Linked DNA regions of Homo sapiens: regions 2, 3, 4, 5, 6 and 7 are each linked to region 1. Evidence: promoter capture Hi-C in human tissues and cell types (Jung and others, 2019). All regions are on one chromosome and are shown on one strand. Each heading gives the region's core, a stretch centred on a gene start or on the middle of the fragment in contact. The rest is flanking DNA. Distances are from core to core; before and after follow the strand shown.

Evidence for each region. Contacts are between HindIII fragments. The study calls those that stand out against the background at their distance.
Region 2: a fragment that was not itself captured here is called in contact with the fragment with the promoter of LPAR1 in region 1 in 1 of the 25 tissues and cell types used here (mesenchymal stem cells).
Region 3: a fragment that was not itself captured here is called in contact with the fragment with the promoter of LPAR1 in region 1 in 1 of the 25 tissues and cell types used here (mesenchymal stem cells).
Region 4: a contact is called between a fragment that was not itself captured here and the fragment with the promoter of LPAR1 in region 1, in 9 of the 25 tissues and cell types used here (IMR-90 fibroblasts, adrenal gland, aorta and 6 more).
Region 5: a contact is called between a fragment that was not itself captured here and the fragment with the promoter of LPAR1 in region 1, in 3 of the 25 tissues and cell types used here (adrenal gland, dorsolateral prefrontal cortex and mesenchymal stem cells).
Region 6: a contact is called between a fragment that was not itself captured here and the fragment with the promoter of LPAR1 in region 1, in 4 of the 25 tissues and cell types used here (IMR-90 fibroblasts, adrenal gland, lymphoblastoid cells and 1 more).
Region 7: a fragment that was not itself captured here is called in contact with the fragment with the promoter of LPAR1 in region 1 in 3 of the 25 tissues and cell types used here (dorsolateral prefrontal cortex, mesenchymal stem cells and neural progenitor cells).

Annotation. Positions count from the first base shown.
Region 1 is chr9:111,036,999-111,040,146 of GRCh38, forward strand. It overlaps LPAR1 (lysophosphatidic acid receptor 1), which reads right to left and starts at 1,472. Exons shown (of 6, transcript NM_001351411.2): 1 at 1,169-1,472. LOC124902248 (a long non-coding RNA gene) reads left to right here. Exons shown (of 2, transcript XR_007061732.1): 1 at 1-791; 2 at 2,457-3,148. RefSeq lists a silencer at 902-1,241. The HindIII fragment of the contact is 11,259 bases long and covers 1-3,148 here.
Region 2 is chr9:110,539,590-110,542,737 of GRCh38, forward strand. All of the region lies in intron 3 of SVEP1 (sushi, von Willebrand factor type A, EGF and pentraxin domain containing 1), which reads right to left. It overlaps LOC124902331 (U6 spliceosomal RNA), which reads right to left and starts at 209; the gene lies at 101-209. The HindIII fragment of the contact is 4,530 bases long and covers 1-3,148 here.
Region 3 is chr9:110,557,501-110,560,648 of GRCh38, forward strand. The region is part of intron 1 of SVEP1 (sushi, von Willebrand factor type A, EGF and pentraxin domain containing 1); the gene reads right to left. Among named protein-coding and RNA genes, the nearest start is that of SVEP1, 21 kb to the right of the region's middle. The HindIII fragment of the contact is 7,411 bases long and covers 1-3,148 here.
Region 4 is chr9:110,660,511-110,663,658 of GRCh38, forward strand. No RefSeq gene overlaps it. Among named protein-coding and RNA genes, the nearest start is that of MUSK, 6.7 kb to the right of the region's middle. The HindIII fragment of the contact is 6,229 bases long and covers 1-3,148 here.
Region 5 is chr9:110,694,056-110,697,203 of GRCh38, forward strand. It overlaps MUSK (muscle associated receptor tyrosine kinase), which reads left to right. Exons shown (of 15, transcript NM_005592.4): 4 at 1,348-1,475. Among named protein-coding and RNA genes, the nearest start is that of MUSK, 27 kb to the left of the region's middle. The HindIII fragment of the contact is 5,815 bases long and covers 1-3,148 here.
Region 6 is chr9:111,367,698-111,370,845 of GRCh38, forward strand. It overlaps ECPAS (Ecm29 proteasome adaptor and scaffold), which reads right to left. Exons shown (of 50, transcript NM_001364929.1): 44 at 3,025-3,068; 45 at 2,738-2,930; 46 at 1,338-1,476. Among named protein-coding and RNA genes, the nearest start is that of OR2K2, 39 kb to the left of the region's middle. The HindIII fragment of the contact is 3,117 bases long and covers 1-3,006 here.
Region 7 is chr9:110,711,452-110,714,599 of GRCh38, forward strand. All of the region lies in intron 5 of MUSK (muscle associated receptor tyrosine kinase), which reads left to right. Among named protein-coding and RNA genes, the nearest start is that of MUSK, 44 kb to the left of the region's middle. The HindIII fragment of the contact is 4,819 bases long and covers 1-3,148 here.

The DNA of each region.
Region 1 (3,148 bases), core at 222-2,721:
GGACCCACTCTTCTATCCGGCAAGGGAATAACTTCTTAAAAAACTTCGCATTTTCCAAGTGTACAGTCTCCCCTTAACCAGAACTGCAGACTCTGAATCACAGACCTCTGGCTTACCAATTATGCTTAGCTGAGCAAACACACTTATGCAAATACGTGAAAAACAAACTGTTAGAGCCTGAAGGAATAGAGGATTTCGCTGTGATCATCAATATGTGATCATCACATTTTCAATATTTATGTTTACCAATATCTATCTAACCCCATAGGAAACGACGCGTCCATAGTGAAACAAGCCAGCACCCACATTTATGAAAAAATCCACGGATTTCAACAAAAATGAAGAGAGGAGAGCAGAAGCGGAGAGCCACAACCTCAGGCCCCAGACAGCAGGCAGCAGCAAGTCCTGAATGCCTTCACTCTTAACATTGCAAAGACCAAATGGCAGCAAAGAAAAACAAGAATAAACTTTAAATCCATTCACCACAAAGGAGTCCTACGCAAGTCAAAGGAGCCGTCGATTTCAAAACCATCAACTTTCAAAGCCAGGTCCCTCCCTTGCCTTACAACCTCCTGTTACTTGTTAAGCACGTTTGTTAGGCGGCTGGACAGAAACTTAGTTAAAAGTCCTCAGCCCGGTGGTGGGGGACAACCGAGTCGTCAGTGGGAAGCGAGAGGTGCGGAGCCCCAGGGGCGCAGGGACCCCTCGGAGGTGCAAGTCCAGCGGGACGAGGTTTTGGGAGAATTTCGAGGGCCCCTCGCAAGCCCTCCCGCGCACCCACCCCGACCCAGGTAACCGGAGGCCACCTACGTGTCACTGGGCGGGCCCCGGGGCGCACTGACCTGGCGCGGGACAGGAGGGCCGGCGGCCCGGGCGGCTGCGGCAACTTCCCTCCAGGGGCTCGGTCCGCCGCTGGGTGCGGGAGGCCAGGGGAGCCTCGCCTCCTGCAGGCCGGCTCGCAAGAACGCACGGCCACCCACCCGCGCCGCGGCCCACAGCGCGCACCCACACTCTCACTGGCACTCGCACGCGCGCCCCCAACCACAAAGCCCGTCCGCGGCGGGACAGTGTGAGCCCAGCGCGCCGTGTGGCGGGCCGAGCAGTCGCCGCGGCCTCTGGCTTCGCGCCCAGGGGGCGCCGTCCCCACACGCCGCGCCGGCCCCCTTACCTGCGCTCGCTGCCGCCGCGCGTCCCTCTCCTGCCGCCCCCGGGCTGGCTTCAGGCCGCGCGCCCAGTCCCGGCGGCCCCCGCCCCACCGCCAGCCGAGCCCGGCCCTCCGCCCGCCCCTCGGCAGTCGCCCAGAGCGGGGCCGCCCCCTGCGCCCACCCCGCCGGGGTCCCGTGCTCGGCCGGGCGGCGGGGAGGGCTCCGCGGCTCCGGGCCCTGGCCGCCCCAGATCCGGCCCGCGCTCCGCAGCGGGGCTGGAGACGGAGTCGCCACTCAGGGAGCGTCAGCCGCCAGTCGGCCCCTACTGCCCGGCTTTGGCGCGCTGGCAGGAGGAGGGGGCGCAGAGGGAGGGCCAGAGGAGCAGCGCCGACGCCAGCCTCCTCTCTTCCTCCGCCTTCCTTCTTTTCTGCTTGTTCCACGTAGCACAAGTCAGCAACACCCGAACCCCCAGAGTCCGCCCTCCCCGCTCCCAAGCTGGACCCCTTACCTGGTGTGGCGCCCCCAGCGCCCCTGACCTCTGCGCCCCCTCCTCCATTCATTGGCTCGACAGCCCACGGTGGTGGCAGGGCCGGGGCTGGGGGGTGGCCTTAGCCTCCCATTCATTATCTCAGCAGCCTCCCCCGCCCCGCCCCCGAGTCGACACACCCGCAGCGGGAGACCCGTGGCCGCCAGCTCGGGTCCCACCCCCGCCCCTCCTGCGCTTACCCCAGCGCCGGACAGCTGGCAGGACTCCGGTGGACGCCCCGGCACGGGGCATTTTCACGTTGTCGCTCTCCTCTTCCCACTCGAAAAGCTCTGGAAAACATCGCGGGGCCCGCAAAACCCCGGAAATGTGGCCTCTCTTTCGTGGCTCACTTTCTAAACTTTCCAGAAGGCGCAAAGTTTCTCCCAGCGCCGCCCTGCACTGGAGGCTGCGAAGAACGCAGAAGCGGCTTTGCTGCTAGGAAGGTGCATACGTTTCTAGTTCTGATTTTTCACTTCACTGGATCTGTAAACGAAAGCAAGTGTGTCTGCTCCCCTAGTTCTCCATATCCACGATTATAAATTTCTCTTCCGCTTTCCCAGTGTAGCTTTGCAAGTGTAAACTATCAATTTTAGTGAGAGTAATTAAGGGCGGGGACTGCACACCTGGAGGTGTGGGTGGGAGCGGCGCGGGACTAAGGCCTAGGGAACATTCTCAGGAGAGTGGCAGCCACAGGGATTCGCCCAGGTCTTATAACACACCCACTCGATGGGGTCTCCCTAGCCACGCCACCTCACAACACCCATCTCCCACTTCTGGCTTCCCAGGATTTCCGGAGTGATCACAATTATCGGCCTCTCGCTCCACAGCTAAGGCCACCGCATATCAAAAATAGCAGCGTGTGAGTAAAAGTTTCATGAGCCCTCGCCTTGAAATGGCACAGAGGACACAGCACACCAGCAGTAAGGCATGGGGACTCGGCAGGACTGATCTGATTGAGAGAAACGCAGGACAGCGAGGCGGGGCTATGTTGGTGGTGGCCACCAGGTAACCGTGGGCTTTGCAGAAGAGAAAGGTCACTGCAAACCGTAGCTGGACGGAAACTTTTCAAGCCTCAAGTGAGTTATGCTGTGACGGGACCATGACCATCTCCCACCGGTGACTGCTTAGAACCTTGACCAAGCTCGTGTGGTTTTCACAGGATGCTCAGGGCTGAGTCCTGGCTGTAAATAATTTACTATCTAAAGCTGTTTCCTTTTAAAAACAATGGTTCTAATCTTTTTTTTAAAAAAAATCATTCAAATCTTTTTTAAAAATCCACTTTAAATAACTTTGCTTTCTATACCTTTCCTACGAATATATGATTTATTTTATAACCTACTATGTGAAAAAATTGAAATTTTAGTACATGCACAGTGCTAATATGTTCATGCACAATGCTACTTATGTTTGTGTACGGCATGCAGAAATGTGTATAGATATGTATACCCATGAATACAAACCACTCCCTTATCTCACA
Region 2 (3,148 bases), core at 425-2,924, 500 kb before region 1:
AACTAATACTTAACAGATTTTTAAAGTATATATATACACATATATGTATGTGTTACATATATATGTATAATATATGTACATTACATATATATATGTATATTTAAATAAGAAATGCTTCATGAATTTGCTAGTCACCCTTGCACAGAGGGGCCATGCTAATTTTCTCTGTAACACTCCGATTTTAGTATATATGCTGCCAAAGCAAGCACAAAAATTATATTCTTAATTGTGAGTCTGTTTGTTAAATTTCTATCCCATAGAATAATAAAAATTGAAATTAATTTTTAAATGTTCTGTGACCAAAGTGGCTAGACTATAGACTGTGCAGCCAGAAAACTCGAGCTCATATCCCAGCTCTATTAGCTGTGTGACCCTGGACAAATTGCTTAAGTTCTCAGACTTTTAGTTTCCTTATCTATAAAATGAGAAAATGCTCCAGAGAGTTATTGTAAAGATTACGAGTTAATATAAACAATGCTTAGAAAATGGTCTGGTACATAGTAAGCACTATTTAATATTAGCTACTATTGTTATTATTATCAGTTATTGCTCTCATCACCATCATCATTATCATTATCATCATCATCATTCTCACTATCCAAATGCCTAGGTGAAAGGTAAAGGATGAAGACAGTCATACTAGTAACAGAGGTGGAAATGTAAGTAACACCTTCTTTTCATTAGATCCACAGTTTTGCAATACTGTTCCCTTAGCTGAAATTTAATAACTAAACCCAGAATAATATTTTCTCCATCCTCTAAATCTAATTATGTGGTGTTAAAATACCAGACCTACATTCCTGAGTCATCCAAAATATTTGCAGTAAATGAAACAGAGTTATGTAGGGTTTTTTAAAAAAACAACAACAACAACAGCAAAATACCAATGCTTTTGTAAAACATTGATTGATTTACCACAAGAAAAGTATTGATATCTGGGTATTCCTGTTTTTCTCCATTTCTGGTTTCTTAAGGAGTAATGTAACATCAAGAGAAAAGAACAAGAACGACAAGACCACTAGCTAAAAGCACATGATTAACTTGAAACTAATTCATTGAAGTTTTGAGTCAAGGGAAATTATAAACCAGTTCAAACATATCATATGCTATAAAACTGAACTCTTTGACAGACTATTACTTGTCAGTGATTTCTAACAAATACCTCTAACAAAGACTGGTATTCAAGTTAGGATTTTCATGACATGGAACAGATCTACAATTATTACAATATTTTTGTGCATCAGGATCTTGTCCATGAAGTAGCTGCTTACTGTGACAGTGGCGTTCATTTCAAGGGAAGCCACCGCCTTGGCTACAGATTTGAGAGGTCATTGTTTGAAGACTCAATTAACCCAGACCACCAATCTCCCACAACAACGAGGAAGAAAGAGAAGACCACAGTAATATCATGATGGTCAGCTATCTTTGGTCTCAAGGGTACCTGTGAGATAGCCTTGGCCTGGGAATTGGAATACCTTAATTCTACTTCAGCTCTGCCACAAATTTACTACATGATGATGGGATGGGATTTCCTCATCTTCCGAACGAATGATGAGGAAAAACCCTTATGGGCATTTCTAATATTCTACTTGTCTATGAAACTAACAAATATAACTCATCTCAGCATCTGTCCTTATCCTAATCAAGGTAAACAACCTCTACTTTTTGTCTGTTTTATTATTATTGTTTTTAAACTTGTCATTGACCTGAAGCTTAATAACATCTGCTTTCTTCAACATTCAATGGCACATTATTCCTCTGCTTTCTCCCATCTAATAGTCTTGCTTTTCACTGGATACTCATCAGATTAAAAGTGTATTCCACCTTTAGTAGGTGCAAGGGCTCTTTACTAGGTGCAAGGCCTGTGCGCCAGCATGCACTGGTGAATGCACAGGATAATACCCCTAGTCTAGCCTAGAACAGTAGAATTCATAAGATATACGGTTGTCACTTCATACTTGAAGTAATTATCTTAATGCTCATTCATTAGCTTTCTCATGACAATTATATTATCTCAAAATAATCGTTAATAATAAAATCCGCCCCTGGTTGAGAATTGATGTGCCACATACCATCTTATGTATTCTAAGTATATTCTCTATTAACCCAACTAGTTTTGCATACACATACACACATGCAATCTATATACATATCTACATACATCTATATACATAGATATCTATATATATCTATATACATAGATATCTATATATATCTATATACATAGATATCTATATATATCTATATACATAGATATCTATATATATCTATATACATAGATATCTATATATATCTATATACATAGATATCTATATATATCTATATACATAGATATCTACATATTACATTTATACATATCTATGTACATAGACATGCATATATATGCATGTAGATATGTATAAAATTATACTATAATTTAAGCCCATTTTACAGAAAAAACTCAGAACAGAAGAAATTAAGTTGCTCATAGCCATGCAGTTTGTAATTGGCAGAGGCTGAATTTAAGCCAGCTCTTTCTGTGTTGCGAAACATTTTGAACACAGTTCAGTGTCTGTTGTCTCTGAGAAGCAATGTATATAAGATGTTATTTTCAAACATGGGGGAAGACAGCAGTGTGATATCTTGGAAATAATATAGGACTTAGAGAAAAGTGTCTGGGGTTCTTCCCGGGGTTCTGCTGATGTTTGGGTATGTTATCTTGAGCAACATACTCATCTTTCCTGAGGCCTCAATTTCCTCTTGTAGAATGAGGGGTTTAGAGCAGATAATCTCTAGGGTTACTTCTGGATCTAAAAGGGAATGATTTCCTTCTGAAAGGCATTGTTTCTGCAGTGAGGATAAATACTCAGAATTCCAACTATTCAGAATGAAATTTAACATCCTCTCCTTAAGTAATAAAACAGCTATCGTCTAGTCATCCTTCAGATCTCAGCTGTCTGTCTAACTTGAAACTTCTGTGTTGTGTGTTCTTCATACTATGGACATTTAAAAATAAAATTTAATAACACATAACATTGTTGGCAATTACAAACTGATTTTTGCAGTTAGACTGTAAGTCCCAAGAAGGTAGTGACCATATCTGTCTGCTCACTATTGAATACCTACCTCATACCTAGCAGTGGGCTTGGTGTGGAGAACATCCTCAACA
Region 3 (3,148 bases), core at 361-2,860, 480 kb before region 1:
CTCTCTCTCTCTCCCTTTCTTTCTTTCTTTCATACGGAATTCTTATACTTTATATCTTACATTCTACCTTTATTTTATTTAGCAGAAAATTTTCAAAGAAGCCAGATAGAGTTGTGGATTTTTATTCTGCTTTTTCACCATCCATGAATGAAGACATATATTCAGTCATAGTGTTTCCAACAAACAATGAACAACTAACTGGGTAAAAGTAAAATGAGTGTTGGAATTTATGGTTGTAAATTTTGCTATCTATTATTATTAATATTATTAAAGCAAGCTGATAACCCACCCAAATGATCAGTGAAGAGGTTAACCCTCTTATTTGTAACAAATAAGCCACAGCCTGTGTCTGAAAATGGATGGCCTAGATCACCAATCCCCAATAGAACTTTCTATAATGCTTGACATTATCATTTGTTCTGTTACATACAGTAGCCACATATGGCTATTGAGCACTTGAAATGAGACTATTGCAACTGAGAAATTGAATTAGTAACTTTGTTTAATTTTAATTAACTTAAATTTAAGTAGACACATGTGGCTAGTGGCTATAATATGGGACAGTGTAAACCAAGATAGATATATCCTCATCCCAGGATGAAAAAACACAAAACATCTAGAGAAGGCCTATGAAAATATTCTGTAAATCCAAGATATACAAAATCAACTGAAGCATTTGGAAGAGTATGTAATTTAATACTAAAATAAGAAAATAAGAATAATTGGCCCGGTGCTGTGGCTCACACCTGTAATCCCAGCACTGAGGCAGGCAGATTGATTGAGCCCAGGAGTTCAAGACCAGGCTGGGCAACATGGAGAAACCCTGTCTCTACAAAAAAAAAAAAAAAAAAAAATTGCAAAAAATAGGCTGGTTATGGTGGTGCACACCTGTAGTCCCAGCTACTTGGGTGGCTGAGGTGGGAGAACTACTTGGGCCCAGGAGGTGAATGTTGCAGTAAGTCATGATGGTGCCACTGCACTCCAGCCTGGGTGACAGAATGAGACCCTGTCTCAAAAAAAAAAAAAAAAAAAGCATAATAAAATGGTGCTTGTATTACTAGGATTTAGAAAGTCAAAACCTCCATAAAAAACAAGAACTGAAAGCCATAGAAAGAGAATAGGCTAAAATGAAAAGAGAGATGTGTAAGAGAGGAATTTGATAAGAAACTAATGCATGAAAACTCAAAATAATGAAAGACAGAGATCCACATTGCTCATAGTGAGATAAAAATGCCAGAAATTCAAATTGATAAAGTTTAGTACAAATTTTAGTGTAGAAAGCTGCTGACTAATCTCACATAGCCACAAAATTTTATATAAATACTACCAAACTGAATTCAAATATTAAAAGAAACTTTCTCGTTTATGTGATAAGGCTTATTCCTCAAATATAAATATATATTAAAATTGGAAAGTCTTTGGCTCCAATGCAACACAATTATTACCCCAATTAAAAGGAAGTAATAATCCAATATGCTGAAAAGACATTCAATAAAATTAATTTTTGCTTTGCTTATCAATAAAAATTAGGAATAAAAATATACCTCATTAGTATGATAGATTATCTATCTCAAAACAATAATGGAAACCATGTTCAACTATTAGAAAAACAGCAGATTTCCCAAGTAGGTAAGAAATAAATCAGTAGTATTAAGTATTTTCATTATTATTTAAAATCCTTTTGAACTTCCTAGCTAACATAATAAGACACAGAACCATAGAAAGTGTTATACTTCTTAAAGCTTCTGCTCCCTCTAAAAAAATCAGAATTAGAAAGAAAACAACAAACTGGAAAATATATGTATTATGCTTATCAAATATAGTATTAATGTCTTTAAAATATAAATAATTTTTATAGCTGTCTAAGGAGGAGAAAAGAGAAAAAATAACAGAAATACAGTTGAGCATTTTTGACCAAACAAAACAAAGACCAAAAAAAGAAATTGTATTTGCCAGAAAATATGAAAAATGTTTAACTTCATTAATACCAAAATAGCATAAGTTTAAAAATAGTAACACTGTTTTTTTTTAACTTCTCAAATGGCCAAGGTTTTCTTTAAATTTCAAAATTGCAAAATACATAGGAAAACAGATATTTTTGTTGGGAATACCACCTGTCCTGGTAATATTTGGAGGACGGTTTGACAAAGTGATCAAAGCCTTAAAATTTTCACATGATTTGAACTGAAATTCTACAGCTAAGAATATGTTAAGGAAATAACAATGGATACACACACAAAATGATCAAAAGGATGTATGTGTATCCCAGAATAATTTGCAATAATAAAAAATTAGAAACAATATAAAGTTCCAACAACAGGACAAGCACACTAGTTAAATAAATTATAGGGTAATCACATAATATTATTACAATGATATTATTGAACACTATTAAATTTAAGAAGTAGGCAACCAAACACAATGATTTCATTACCTATATGTACATGACATTAGTGTGCATGTATGTGGAAATGTACTGTATGTCTGTTTGTGTATGTATGAGTGTGACTGACTCATACAGTATATAGTCATGTATACACTCATGTACCACATAATGATGTTTTGGTCAATGACAGACCACATATACAACCGTGATCTCATAAGATTATAATGCCATATTTTTGCTCTGCCTTTTCTATAGCTATGTTGAAATACACAAATATTTAACATACTGTTACAATTGTCCACAGTATTCAGTACTGTAACATACTGTAAGGGCTTATAGCCTAAAAGCAATAGGCTATTCCATATAGCCTAGGTGATTAGTAGGCTATACCACCCAGGTTTTTGTAAATACAGTCTGTGATATTCACACAATAACAAAATTGCCTAATGATGCTTTTCTCAGAAGGTATCCCCATTGTTAAGCAATGCATGACTGTACATCAAAATGTTGACTGTCTCCTAGTAGTGTCTTTAGGGTTTTTCATTTACTTCTATGTTATAGTTTGTTGTTGTTTGCCATTTCCAAATTTTCTCTTTCATGCTTCCTTTGGGCAGTATCATGTGAACTCAGAACTTTGAGTCTCACTTACAGTCTAATGGCTCCTAAATCAATGTCAAACTCTTCAACTTCCAACGTGAAGTTCCAGTGGCCCAGTATACACCTCTGTCTGAATGCACCATGAGGCTCCTCAAACTCAACATA
Region 4 (3,148 bases), core at 200-2,699, 380 kb before region 1:
GAAGATAAGTTAGCTGTCTAGGATTAGCTATTTGCGTGATACTATCTTAACTTTAACAGCACTTTGACTTTTAGAATTCATGTTTTTTCAGGTCAATTTACAGACCTGCTAATTTTTTAAAAACAATTCTGAATTTATATACAATCCATAGTTTATCAAACATATTACATTCTTCTGCACGTGGCTATCCAGTTATCCCAACACAATTTATTGAAGAGACTATTAAACTCACCAATAGAAGGAAACACATATTCCCCAACTTTTTCCCCGTGCCTTCATGTATAAGGATTTTGAACAGAGTCCAATATCTGGATGAGTGTTGGTTTACAAAAGTATTTTAGCTCAATGAGGACAGTGAGCACCCATTATGGAGATATGGCCTGTAAAATGGCATTTTGTTTTAAAGTCTCTCACAGTGATGGGAAGAGAAAGCAAAGTTTAAAAGTGAGCGGTCCTCTTTTATCTCACTGTTAGTTCTAATTGAATATTAAACCATTTAAAGATTAATTTAATATATCTCAAAAGTTGAGTTTTGGTTTCTTGTGAGACGGGCATGTAGGTGACCAGATATACCAGTGTTTCCCAAGACAGAGATTTAATTCAGAGATACAGGTGTAGAATTCACATGCATATACCTGTTAACTAATGCTGTAAGTGTGGACACTGAAAAAAAAATGCCAATGACTTAAGCTTGGAGAAAACTAACATTTATTTTCTCCATGGAAGAAAAAGGATTTCATGAAAGAGAAAACAAAAAATAACAAGAAAAACAGGAAAGAGCCCGATTTAAAAAGCCAAGTGAAAAATGGCTTTTAAGTGAAAATAATTGGCCAGTATTTTCATATGTTTGGGAAAATATATGTAAAGCTATAGATCTAATAGATATATTCCTTCTCTCTCATACACATGTTTTTTCTGGTACTTTTAAAATCCCAAATTTTATTTTGGCGTAATATATGAGGTACAGATGTAATTGATTTTTTAAAATGGCTACCAAATTCACCTAATAAGTCATCTTTCCTCACTAATTTAAAATGCCGTCTTTATCATTCATTCAGTGTGCACTGACCTTCTACTTATAGCCTCATACCACAGGATTTTAATGTCATTACATTAAGCTATTATTAAACCTTTACAATACATTTTAACACTTGGTAGGCAAGTGATTCCTTATTTTTATAACGATGCCAAGAATACACAAAAATAGTCTCTTCAATAAAATTGTGTTGGGACAACTGGATAGCCACATGCAGAGAATAAAATTAGGCCCTTATTTTATATAAAAATCAACTCAAAATGGATTTGAGACTTAAACGTAAGAATGGAAACTGAAACTACTAGAATATAAATGGAAAAAGCTTTTTTTCCCACATTTTCCCTGATTATTTTTGCTTACTTTGTTTCTGTATATATGTTCTAAAATCAGCTTCCTAGTTTCCAAAATACGATTGGAATTGTATTAAGATTACCTTAAGTGTATAGGCTACACTATCTCAGGAGACAACAGTTCTGATAAAACTATGGTTTGCTATTTTTCTCCTTCGCAAACTGCACTAGGAGCAGGTTGGAGAAACTGAGTTGTAAATGAAAACCCACTACCAGTAGCTCCCCTTCACTATCTAGATCTCCAGCTCTAAGAAAGATGGCATGAACTAAGGCTGTGTATAGGGTAGATGTGAAATCGAGGTTCCGGTGGAGAGGGAAGTGTAGTCTCCTTTTTGTTAAGAAAGAAACAAAACCCCAAACTTACTTGCCCAATATCTTAGGCCCTGAAACACCAGGATAATTAGGTGCCCAAAAATTCATAATCATTATTTTTTATTCCTCCTAACTGCAATTTTGCATCCTTTCACCAACATCTCCCCAATACCCATTTCCCCTCCCCCAGTCCCTTGTAATCACCATTCTCTCTACTTCTATGATTTCAACTTTTTCAGATTCCACAGACAAGTGAGACCATGTGGTGTTTGTCTTTCTGTGTTTGGCTATTTCACATAACATAATGTCCTCTAGGTTCATTTATATTATCCCAAATCACAGGATTTTCTTCTTTTTAAAGGCTGAATAGTATCCCATTGTGTATATATATACACACACACATATATATGTGTGTATATATATATATATATATATATATATAGTACCACATTTTTGTTATTTATTTATCTAGTCATGAATATGTAGGTTGATTCCATACTTTGGTTATTGTGAATAATGCTGTAGTGAACATGGGAATACAGATATCTCTTTGACATACTGATTCATACTGATTACATTTCCTTTGAATATATATCCAGTAGTGGGATTGCTCTATTATATGGTAGTTTTCTTTTTAGATTTCTGGTAAACCTCCCCACTGCTTTCCATAATGGCTGTACTAATTTACATTCCCACTAACAGTATACAGGGTTCCCTTCTGTCCACATCCTCACCAACACCTGTTACCTTTCATCTTTTTGAAAATAGCCATTCTAACTGGAGTGAGATAATATTTCATTGTGGTTTTGATTTGTATTTCCCTGATAATTAATGATTTTAAGCATGTTTTCATATACCTGTTGGCCATTTGTATGTCTTTTAAGAAATGTCTATTCAAATCCTTTTCCCACTTTTCTTTAAGTGAATGAGGTCTTGCTATGTTGCCCATGCTGGCCTTGAACGCCTAGGCTCAGCATCCCGAGTAGCTGGGACTAAAGGGGTGTGCCACTGTGCTTGACTTCTTTGCCCATTTTAAAATTGGGTTATTTGTCTTTTTTTTTTTTTTTGCTATTGAATTGTCTGAATTCCTTATATATTTTGGATATTAACCTCATCAGGTGTATGGTTTGCAAATATTTTCTCCCATTCTGTAGATAGTGCCTTTACTCTGTTGATTGTTTCCTTTGCTGTGCAGAGGCTCTTCTGTTTAATGTAATCTCATTGGTCTATTTTTGCTTTTTATTGCCTGTGCTTTTGGGGTCACATCCAAAAAATCATTGCCCAGACCAATGTCATAAAGCTTTTTCCCTATATATTCTAGCAGTTTTAGTTTCCATTCTTACATTTAAGTCTCGAATCCACTTTGAGTTGATTTTTACATAAAATAAGGGCCTAATTTTATTCTTCTGCATGTGGCTATCCAGTTGTCCCAAAACAATTTATTGAAGAG
Region 5 (3,148 bases), core at 243-2,742, 340 kb before region 1:
CCGCAGGAACTCTAAATGACAGTGAATGCTTAGATTAAAAACCAACAGGTCTCACGCCTGTAATCCCGGCACTTTGGGAGGCCGAGGCGGGCAGAACACGAGGTCAGGAGATCAAGATCATCCTGACAACAGGGTGAAACCCCGTCTCCACTAAAAATACAAAAAAAAAAAAAAAAAAAAATTAGCCGGGTGTGGTGGTGGGCGCCTGTAGTCCCAGCTACTCGGGAAGCTGAGGCAGGACAATGGCATGAACCCGGGAGGCGGAACTTGCAGTGGGCCGAGATCGCGCCACTGCACTCCAGCCTGGGCGACAGAGCGAGACTCCGTCTCAAAAAAAAAAAAAAAAAAAAACAAAAAAACAAAACCCAACAGGTCATGAAGGCTTTGCAAGTATCTCTTACCACCAACAACACCAAAGCCCCCATTCCTCTCCCTCACATTGAAGTAGAAGAAAACAAAGTCCATATTTCATGCGTTCCTTTGTCAAAATAACAAATTGGTTACGGCACATGTCCTGCAAGAAATAAAATGTGTCCATTGCTCAGTAGTCTCTCTTGCGAAGTCCCCCTCTGTATCTGTAACGTAAAATTCCTAAGGACATAAATGTAGTTTTAACTATTTTACGAATAGTACTAAAATAACTGGCATCCTGAACTTATCAATTCTTTTGTATATTAGATTTAATAACTTTCTTTGAAAGTTTCATATTTGAGAATAAAAATTAACTGGCATAAACTATTTCTTCTGAAAGATTAAAAGTGTTTGAACAGTAAATTACATGTTTGAGTCCCCCCAAATTGTATGACAGAATTTCTTCTGATTGTTAATATAATAATATCTGGTTTACTTTCTAGAGAATGAATGTATTTAATTAATAATCATAAAATTTAATAGTCAAATTAAGATGGAAGCTAAAGGGAAAATAGGTCATAATTTCTAACTAGGTAAGAATATAGTTATATCAAAATTTTCTTTTCAAATGTTTTATGTCTATCAGTATGAATTAAATAATGTTGAATTGCTATGGTGACAGTCTATGTTAATCAGCTTTTATTAACTATCTTTTAAAATGAAGAATGCTATGGTAACTTCACACTGTTAATATTTTTCATAAATTTGTGTTTTGCTAGTAAGATTCTAATAAAGCAGAGACAACCAAGTGTTTCTAAACTGATTTCTGTTTGAGATCTACTGAGGAAAACTGTCTTTGCATTTGGTGAATTTTGTAATGTAACATGCCTCAAATGATTCTCAAAACAGATGTTTAGAATTAAATTGAAAGTTAGAAACTCTAGGTTTAATAAAGCCATATTGCCTTATTTATTTTGAATTTTCATTTCTTTTTAGAACCTAAAATAACTCGTCCTCCCATAAATGTGAAAATAATAGAGGGATTAAAAGCAGTCCTACCATGTACTACAATGGGTAATCCCAAACCATCAGTGTCTTGGATAAAGGGAGACAGCCCTCTCAGGGTAAGTGGTTATGATGTTAAAACACATATATAAAATGTATTTTAAAATATAACATTTCTTTACACACTCAGTTACACACTTACAAACTTCTAGTATAAAGTAGTTTCCATGTACATTTTAACCAAATGTAAATATTTCTGTTTGCATATATGCAAACTGCATGGCATTTCATTTGGGTCTGGCTAGGGAAAAAAGAGATGGGAACCAATAATGTTAAAGATAGAAAAGGAGGCAATGAAAAAGCAAACCTGGAATCCTTTGTATTTGTTGGCTGGCTAAATCATTTATTTTTTTTTAATGTTGAATCTGAGACTTAGGGGATGAAAAAGAAAAACTAAAACCCAGGCTTTAGAACTGACAGTTTCTGGAAGGAGGGAGGGAGACAAGGTTCGGAAGAAAAGAAATGAGATCTCTGGAGAGAAGTTAGGCGAAAAGACTCAAGACTCATACACAAATACCTTGGCAAATCCCTCCTGAGTCATGAAGAGTAGTCACGCCTGTAATTCCAGCACTTCAGGATGCCAAGGCCTGAGGTCAGAAGTTCAAGACCAGCCTGGCCAACATGGCGAAATCCTGTCTCTACTAAAAATACAAAAATTAGCTGGGTGTGGTGGTGTGTGCCTATAATCCCAGCTACTCAGGAGGCTGAGGCAGGAGAATAACTTGAACCCGAGAGGCAGAGGTTGCAAGTGAGCCAAGATCTCACCACTGCACTCCAGCCTGGGCAACAGAATGAGACTCCATCTCAAAAAAAAAAAAAGTTATTATCCATATGCTTATTTTGTACTGCCTCTGTATCTTATCCCCACATTTATTGATAAATTATTATGAGGCATCATTATTGTCTTTCCATCTTTATATCACCTAAAAGATTACAGACTATGTTTTTCATTTAACAATGCATAGTATATTTTAAGAGGAATACAAAGGTGTCACTTTATGTCAATTAACTGAACTAAGGTATAAAATTGCTCAGCTTTGCTTTATTTAAAATAAAATAAATATTGCTAATTTTTAATGATTAATTATCTGGCTTTCCTCTTGTTATAAATCTTGGTGCATTTCCTACAATGACAAACAAGGGTGGTTGTACTTATGTTACTGAATTTAGGGTTCAAAACAGAAAAGACAGATGTAATATTTAAACTCCAAAGAGTAATTTTAATATTATGTGTGAAATTTTCTAGTATTTCAAAGGACATGTACTCTTCTAAAGATACCATCTAGGGTGCAAGGTAAACCTGATAGTTAAAAGCAATGTGTTTATTTATTCATATTTCAATAGCTTTTGGGGTACTAGTGGTTTTTGGTTGCAAGGATGAACTGTATAGTGGCCAAGTCTGAGATTTTAGCGTGCCTATTACCTGAGTGCTGTACATTATACCCAGTATATAGTTTTGTATGTCTCACCACCCCACTCTGCAACATTTCCCCCTTCTAAAAGCAATGCTTTTAATCAGATTTAGCTGTGACTTTGGGGAAGCAAAATAAGCCCATATACATATATATATTATACATATACATATTATATATATAATATATATATACACACACTCATGGGATGAAAGAAAATAAAAATAAACTATACCTCATAGGACCCTGGTGAAGATTAATTTAGGTACTCTTGCACTATTTCATTTAATATTGTATGTTTTACATAATAAGTGGCCAAT
Region 6 (3,148 bases), core at 198-2,697, 330 kb after region 1:
TGATTCTAGACATATCCAATCACAAATAATCAACAGTACTTTTTATAACATTCAATAATATTGTCGCTGGGCATGGAGGCTCATACCTATAATCCCAGCACTTTGAGAGGGAGGCCAAAGTGGGAGGATCACTTGAGCCCAGGAGTTTGAGACCAACCTGGGCAACATAGCAAGACCTCACCTCTTCAAAAAAAATTTGCTGGGTGTCGTGGCATGCACTTGTAGACCCAAATACTTGGGAGGCTGAGGCAGGAAGATCACTTGAGCCCAGGAGGTAAAGGCTGCAAGAACTGCACCACTGCACTCCAGCCTGGGCAACAAAGCAAGACCCTGTCTCAAAAAAAAAACAAACAAAAAAAAAACGAATACTAAGATCTTCAGCAGGATGCACTGTAGGACCCAACACAAGGCAAGCTTAAAGGGTAGCATCATCACTTCTTGGCCTTTTGGCTAAGATCAAGTGTAAAGGGTAGTATCATCCCAAGGTTAAGGCCCTGTCAGGGGACTCCAAACTAACTGCAACCTCATCCAATAATAGAGGTTTACTGTTCATTTAATCTTTGGGAAATACATGTCCAGTTCTGAAAATTGTCCAAATAGTAATGAGTTTTTCACTGAAACAGGGATTTCAGTTGCTTACTGAACACTTGGTAACAAGACCATTCATTTCAGGATAAAGAGACCCTGCTAATAAACTTTGTGCATTCCTCTGAATAGAGCTATGATCATCAAGAAGATCAGTAGAACTCGTCTATCAAACTATCTGCATAAAATGTATCATGGTTATTATAGGTGGAACTGTGCCCCCAAAATTCGTATGTTAAAATACTATCCCCCAGTACCTCAGAATTTGACTGTATTATTATTAAATAGAAGACAGAGCCTTTAAAGAGGTCATATGAGTGGGCCCTAATCCAGCGTGCCTGGTGTCCTTATAGGAAGAGGTGATTAGGGCACAGAGACACCAAAGACCACGTGAAGACACAGGGAGAAGACAGCCATTCCCAAGCCAAGGAGAGAGGTCTCAGGAGAAACTAACCCTGCTGACGCCTTGATCTCGAAATCTCAGACTTCTATCCTCCAGAATTGTGAGAAAATAAATTTCTGCTAAGCCACCCAGTCTGTGATACTTTCTTACAGCAGCCCTAGCTACAGCGGTACAATGATCAGTGAGATCACAGACTCATGTAGACAAAAAACTTTCACTGGATAATTCTCATTATTAATCAATCAGGCTCGATAAGAAACAATAACTATAATTTGTCATAGAGAAAATTCTTCGCTCTCATTAAGTAACCTCTGGTTACAGCACTTCAAATGCAGTTTCTGGTGCTTACGTTGGGTCTCCGCGTTTCGCGGCCAGGCTTTGCCCAGGCTTTCAAAGGCACCCAGCAGATATTCCAGCTGGAGCTCCTTTTCCTTTTCATTCTCCTCTTCATTTTTGGTTGTCCGGACCCCACTGCTTTCAAGTGAGTTCTAGGATATATCAAAGAAAAGAAAATGTAATATTTTCTTCTTCAAAGTTACAGGTATACTATTAAAGCTATCAGGGTACCAACCAAGGCAGGAGATATTAACCAAGAGTTAAATGATAAATTCTCTACCATAAGTTTCCCTATTTACAACAAGAATTTATAACCAGAATACTGTATCTCTAATAAATTTAGGCAATACTTTACAGGCATCTGTAAACAAAAGCTAAAAAATACTGCATATGTAGTCTTTTGAGCATAACATGAAAAGACTTGCATTAGAATCAGATTTTAAAGATGGAAGAAACTCAGTAATGATCTAAATCCAAACTCTTTCTTGATAGAGAAACAGAGGCTAAGAGAAGCAACTGGTCCAGCTTGCTAGTGATGTAATCAACTTAAAACACAAGTCTCCCAAATCCATATGCTATCACTATGTTTGTAATGGAAATTATTTAAATAGCCTTATTACTGAAAGAAAACAACTGCAATTTAGGAGCAATAAGAAATAAGAATGTTACTTAAAATATTTCATGTTTCACAAATAAACAGGGAAACCACACCCTTTTTTTTGGGGGGGGGACCAGTGCCCAACTTTTAAAAATGAGTATTCCATTTTCCACATGAAACTTGAGTCTTTTTTTGACCCAAATCCTCCACTATATGGCAGAGGCAATTCACATGGCACACTGAGCTTCTTGCCTTTACTCTAGGATGGCTGGGGTGGCTTAGCTTATTAGCCAAGGCAAAGCTTATTATGACATAAACTGTTCATTCACTACCAAATCCACTCTCCCCTTCTCCCATGGAGGGCAAATGGACACCCAGAATGAAGACTCAGTCTGCTGCCAGGTGTGGCTAAGTACTGACCAACAGGATGGCTATAAGTCAAAGTGCCATCTAGCGGTGCCCAGGAACTCTCCTCAAGAGAGACATGGCATGCCCACTGTATCCTTCATCCTTGCTTCATCTCCTCTGCATTCCTGCCTAGAACACAAACACACTGTGGACCATGAGGATGATGACCACACCCTAGAAATGGCAGAGTTCAGAGCTGTAAAGAGACGGAATACCTGAACACTTTGTGATGCTCCCAACGCTTTGTGAGAAACATAGCATTGACTATCTTGTTTAAGGCCGTATTTTGGAATTTCTCTGCTACTTGCAGCTAAACTAATCCTAATAATCAGGACATAGGGGAAAACAATTTTTTAACTTTTTCTTTTTAAAGTATAAACCAGAACTGAGGATACAGGTGGTATTACCTTCTTGATGAGAGGTATGACAATGTTAGAGAACTCCTGGAATCTGTCCTCTTTGGTGGCCTTCAAGATATCAGCTGCACAGCTGATTGCTACAATCTTGTATTTGACATTCTCTTTGCTACATTCCTTCAGAACAGCTTGAAGAATTTCATTTGTGCTGGGTTGATTGGGCACAGACTTTTCCAGCTCTGCACTACAGGGTCCATACAAAAGCATCAGAAGTTAATAAAGGCTGCAGTTTTCGGGTCCAGTTTAAGAAATGGCATCTTCATTGAAAGAACATTTACCTGCAAGCTGTCACCACACAGGCAATGGCTTTCAATAGCTCCTCCTAAGGGGTTGAAAGATGAGGAAATACTATTAAGCCCAAACATGTCATTTACACTGTCTAAACCATGATTACAATTACCT
Region 7 (3,148 bases), core at 283-2,782, 330 kb before region 1:
TGTAAGGGAGGTCACTTTCATGGCAGGCCAAGATCCTTGAGATGTTTTGAAAATTTGAAGGAGAAAGGAATTAGGCCAAAATGAATAGATACTGCAGACGAAATCTTATGGAGAAATTTCCTTGGACTTACATCCTTAGCCTCAGCACAGCAAATTAATAGAAGCTTGCAGAAGACCAAGCTGAGATTTCTTATAGAGACCTCCAGTGGAACAAACTTAAAGAAGGCCCATATGGTTAACGTTCTTGATGCCCATATGGTTAACATTGTTGATGCACCTGTGTAAAGAACCAGGCTAAATCTAATAAGGCCATACTCACTTTGTCGTCAAGAATCTTTGAGATTCTTTTTAATCAAAAGTGGGGAGACTATAAGGAACAATTTGTGCTTAAATGGAAAATTGTGTGTTGTCATTCTAGAGCACACCTGTGTTGTGTGATTCCAATTCTGTGGGAGCTGTTTTAAAGCTTTATAAATTGTAGATAACTGGCAGCAATGCTAAATCGTTCTCCTCCATAGACTTGCAAATGAATTCTGTCCAGTGGAAAAGCAACCAAAAAACCCAATCTGGCTCTGTTTGCACAGTCATTTTAATATTCCTGATCTATAAATGGGTCTGTCCTTGGGATTCTCTTTTCACCTGGTTGCAACACTTCACTGGTTTCCTTGTGAATGAGTTAAATAAAACCTTTAACTCATGTTTATTCTGAAAAAAAAAAAAAAAATCAGTGCCTGGGTTGGGGAGAAGGGTCTCTGCTGAGAAACTGACATTTTATCCATTCCTATAGTAAGTACTGTGTACTTTATTTTCTTTTACTTTATTTTTTGCTCGGCCTGGCATGTATCTTAGAATCCAATTTGAAGCTTAGTCATAGTATCTGTTACACCAAACCATCCAGAGGTTTTCTCCCTGATCCTAATATATTGTTATTCATTTAATTTATGGCCATATCAATATACCTTCCTTAAGATCTCTATGGAAAGAGAAAGAAATAACTAAGTTGACGGATTCATGGAACTTCTCCTCCAAGTGGTTCTCAAATGCCAGTGCACATCAGAAGCATCTGGAGATCTTACTAAATGACACAGCTTCAGGATGCATTCCCCAGTTATTCATATTTGATAGGTTTATGTTAGTGCTTTTTAACAACACCCCAAAGGATCCTTAATGCAGTGACCCATGAACCACACTTTGAAAAACACTGACTTCAGGTTTTCTACTTAGAGGGACTTTATTCCAGATGAATCTAAACAATTCAAGGAGAAAGCTTATCTGCAAATAGTAAGATATCAATGTTAGGATAGCTTCAAATTCATCCATTTGTGGAATGCCTACTATGTTCTATGCAATGAGGTAATTCTTAAGGATACAGACGAAAGAGAGATGTGGTTCATTTCTTGAAAAGTGTTCAAATTCAGTGAGGAAGATGGATATGCAAACAAGTAAAATGCAATATATTTACAATGATAGAAGTTTGTGTAGGGTTATATACACAGGACAGAGGAGATAGGGAAAGGTCAGGGAAATCTTCAGAGAGGTGAAGGCCAACAGGGCTTTGATTGATGAAGAGTGAGGAGCTCTTGGTGAGGATCATATCACATTGAGGGAGGAAAAAGAAAATAGAGGAAAAAATTCAGATTTACCATGCAAGCACAGCCTGACACTGACTCATAACCAGGGAGTAAAAGAAGGATTAGAGAGTTTGGGACAGTATCTATTAGTGGTGCTATAAAAACAGAATAAACCATGATTTGACTCACAGGCTAACATGGAGATCATCTTCTTGGTATCTTCTCTTGGACCTTTTTTTCTTTTTTTTTTTTTTTGAGACAGAGTCTCTCTCTGTCATTCAGGCTGAAGTGCAGTGGTGCAATCTCTGCTCACTGCAACCTCCGCCTCCCAGGTTCAAGCGATTCTTATGCTTCAGCCTCCTGAGTAGCTAGGATTACAGGCATGTGCCACCATGCCCAGCTAATTCTTGTATTTTTAGTGGAGATGGGGCTTCACCATGTTGGCCAGTCTGCTCTCAAGCTCCTGGCCTCAAGTGATCCACCTGCCTCAGTCTTCCAAAGTGCTAGGATTACAGGTGTGAGCCACCATGCCTAGCCCTCTCTTAGACATAATTTTAAACGGGTAGATACCTAACATCCTGACAATGTGGGAACCTATGGTTTGGAGGCATATGGCCTTATCTGGCATCCAGAATTCCATCTAAAAGGTTACAGAAATGTTCCCAACCCAAGCCACTTTAGGCAACTGGGATACTGTGGTATGATTTAAGATTAAGTTTATGGCTTCTATTTATTTTTCCAACTAAAATTTCCGGTTGGCTAAAACAAAAATCTTATTCTTAATAGACCTCAGCTCGTTTAACGCATGTCAGAGTGCAGGCATCTTCCAGAGCTTAGATCAAAAAAGTTATTTAAAAGTAAACTAAGATTTTGATAAACGTACCATGGTTATACAGGATGCTAACATTAGGGGAAGTTGGGTGAACAGTACATGGAAACCTTCTATACTATCTTTGCAACTCTTATGTAAATCTAAAATTATTTCAAAATAAAAATGTTTTAAAAAGGTAAACTAAGAAATACTTCTTTGTCCTGGTAATTAAGCAGTTTAGCATCTCCTCCCATCAAAAACAGAAAATGAACTTTCTTTAAGAAGAAAAAAGTGAATCAGGAATGAAGTCACATATTTTATTGGCTGATGATTAAACTTCTAATATATTTTCAGAACCAGTTTAACAAAAGTGCGGTTGCTTTATATACACCTAAGACTGAAACAAAAACAAGTAAACTTTGTGTAGCTCTTGTCTGATTTACATGGTAAACATTTCTTGCTCGTACCCACTATTCACCATCCATATTTACAAGTGAGAAAAACGTTACCATCTCAAAGGCCACAGAAATGTTCCCAACCCAAGCCATGGGAGGGAATCCCACATCATTGAGGCAGGCAGCCCTTATTTTGTCCTGGAGAAGAGAGTCACTGTATTTGAGGATGATGTGTATGTTTTCTAAAGGAGCTTGCCTTCTGACTCCTTCAGAGTTGGAGCCACAGTGGGTAAACCTCTTCAGGCATTGCCCTGCTTCAAAGCAGACAGAAACGTAAACAGTGGCAGTACACCAGGATCGGGTTTCTTTGC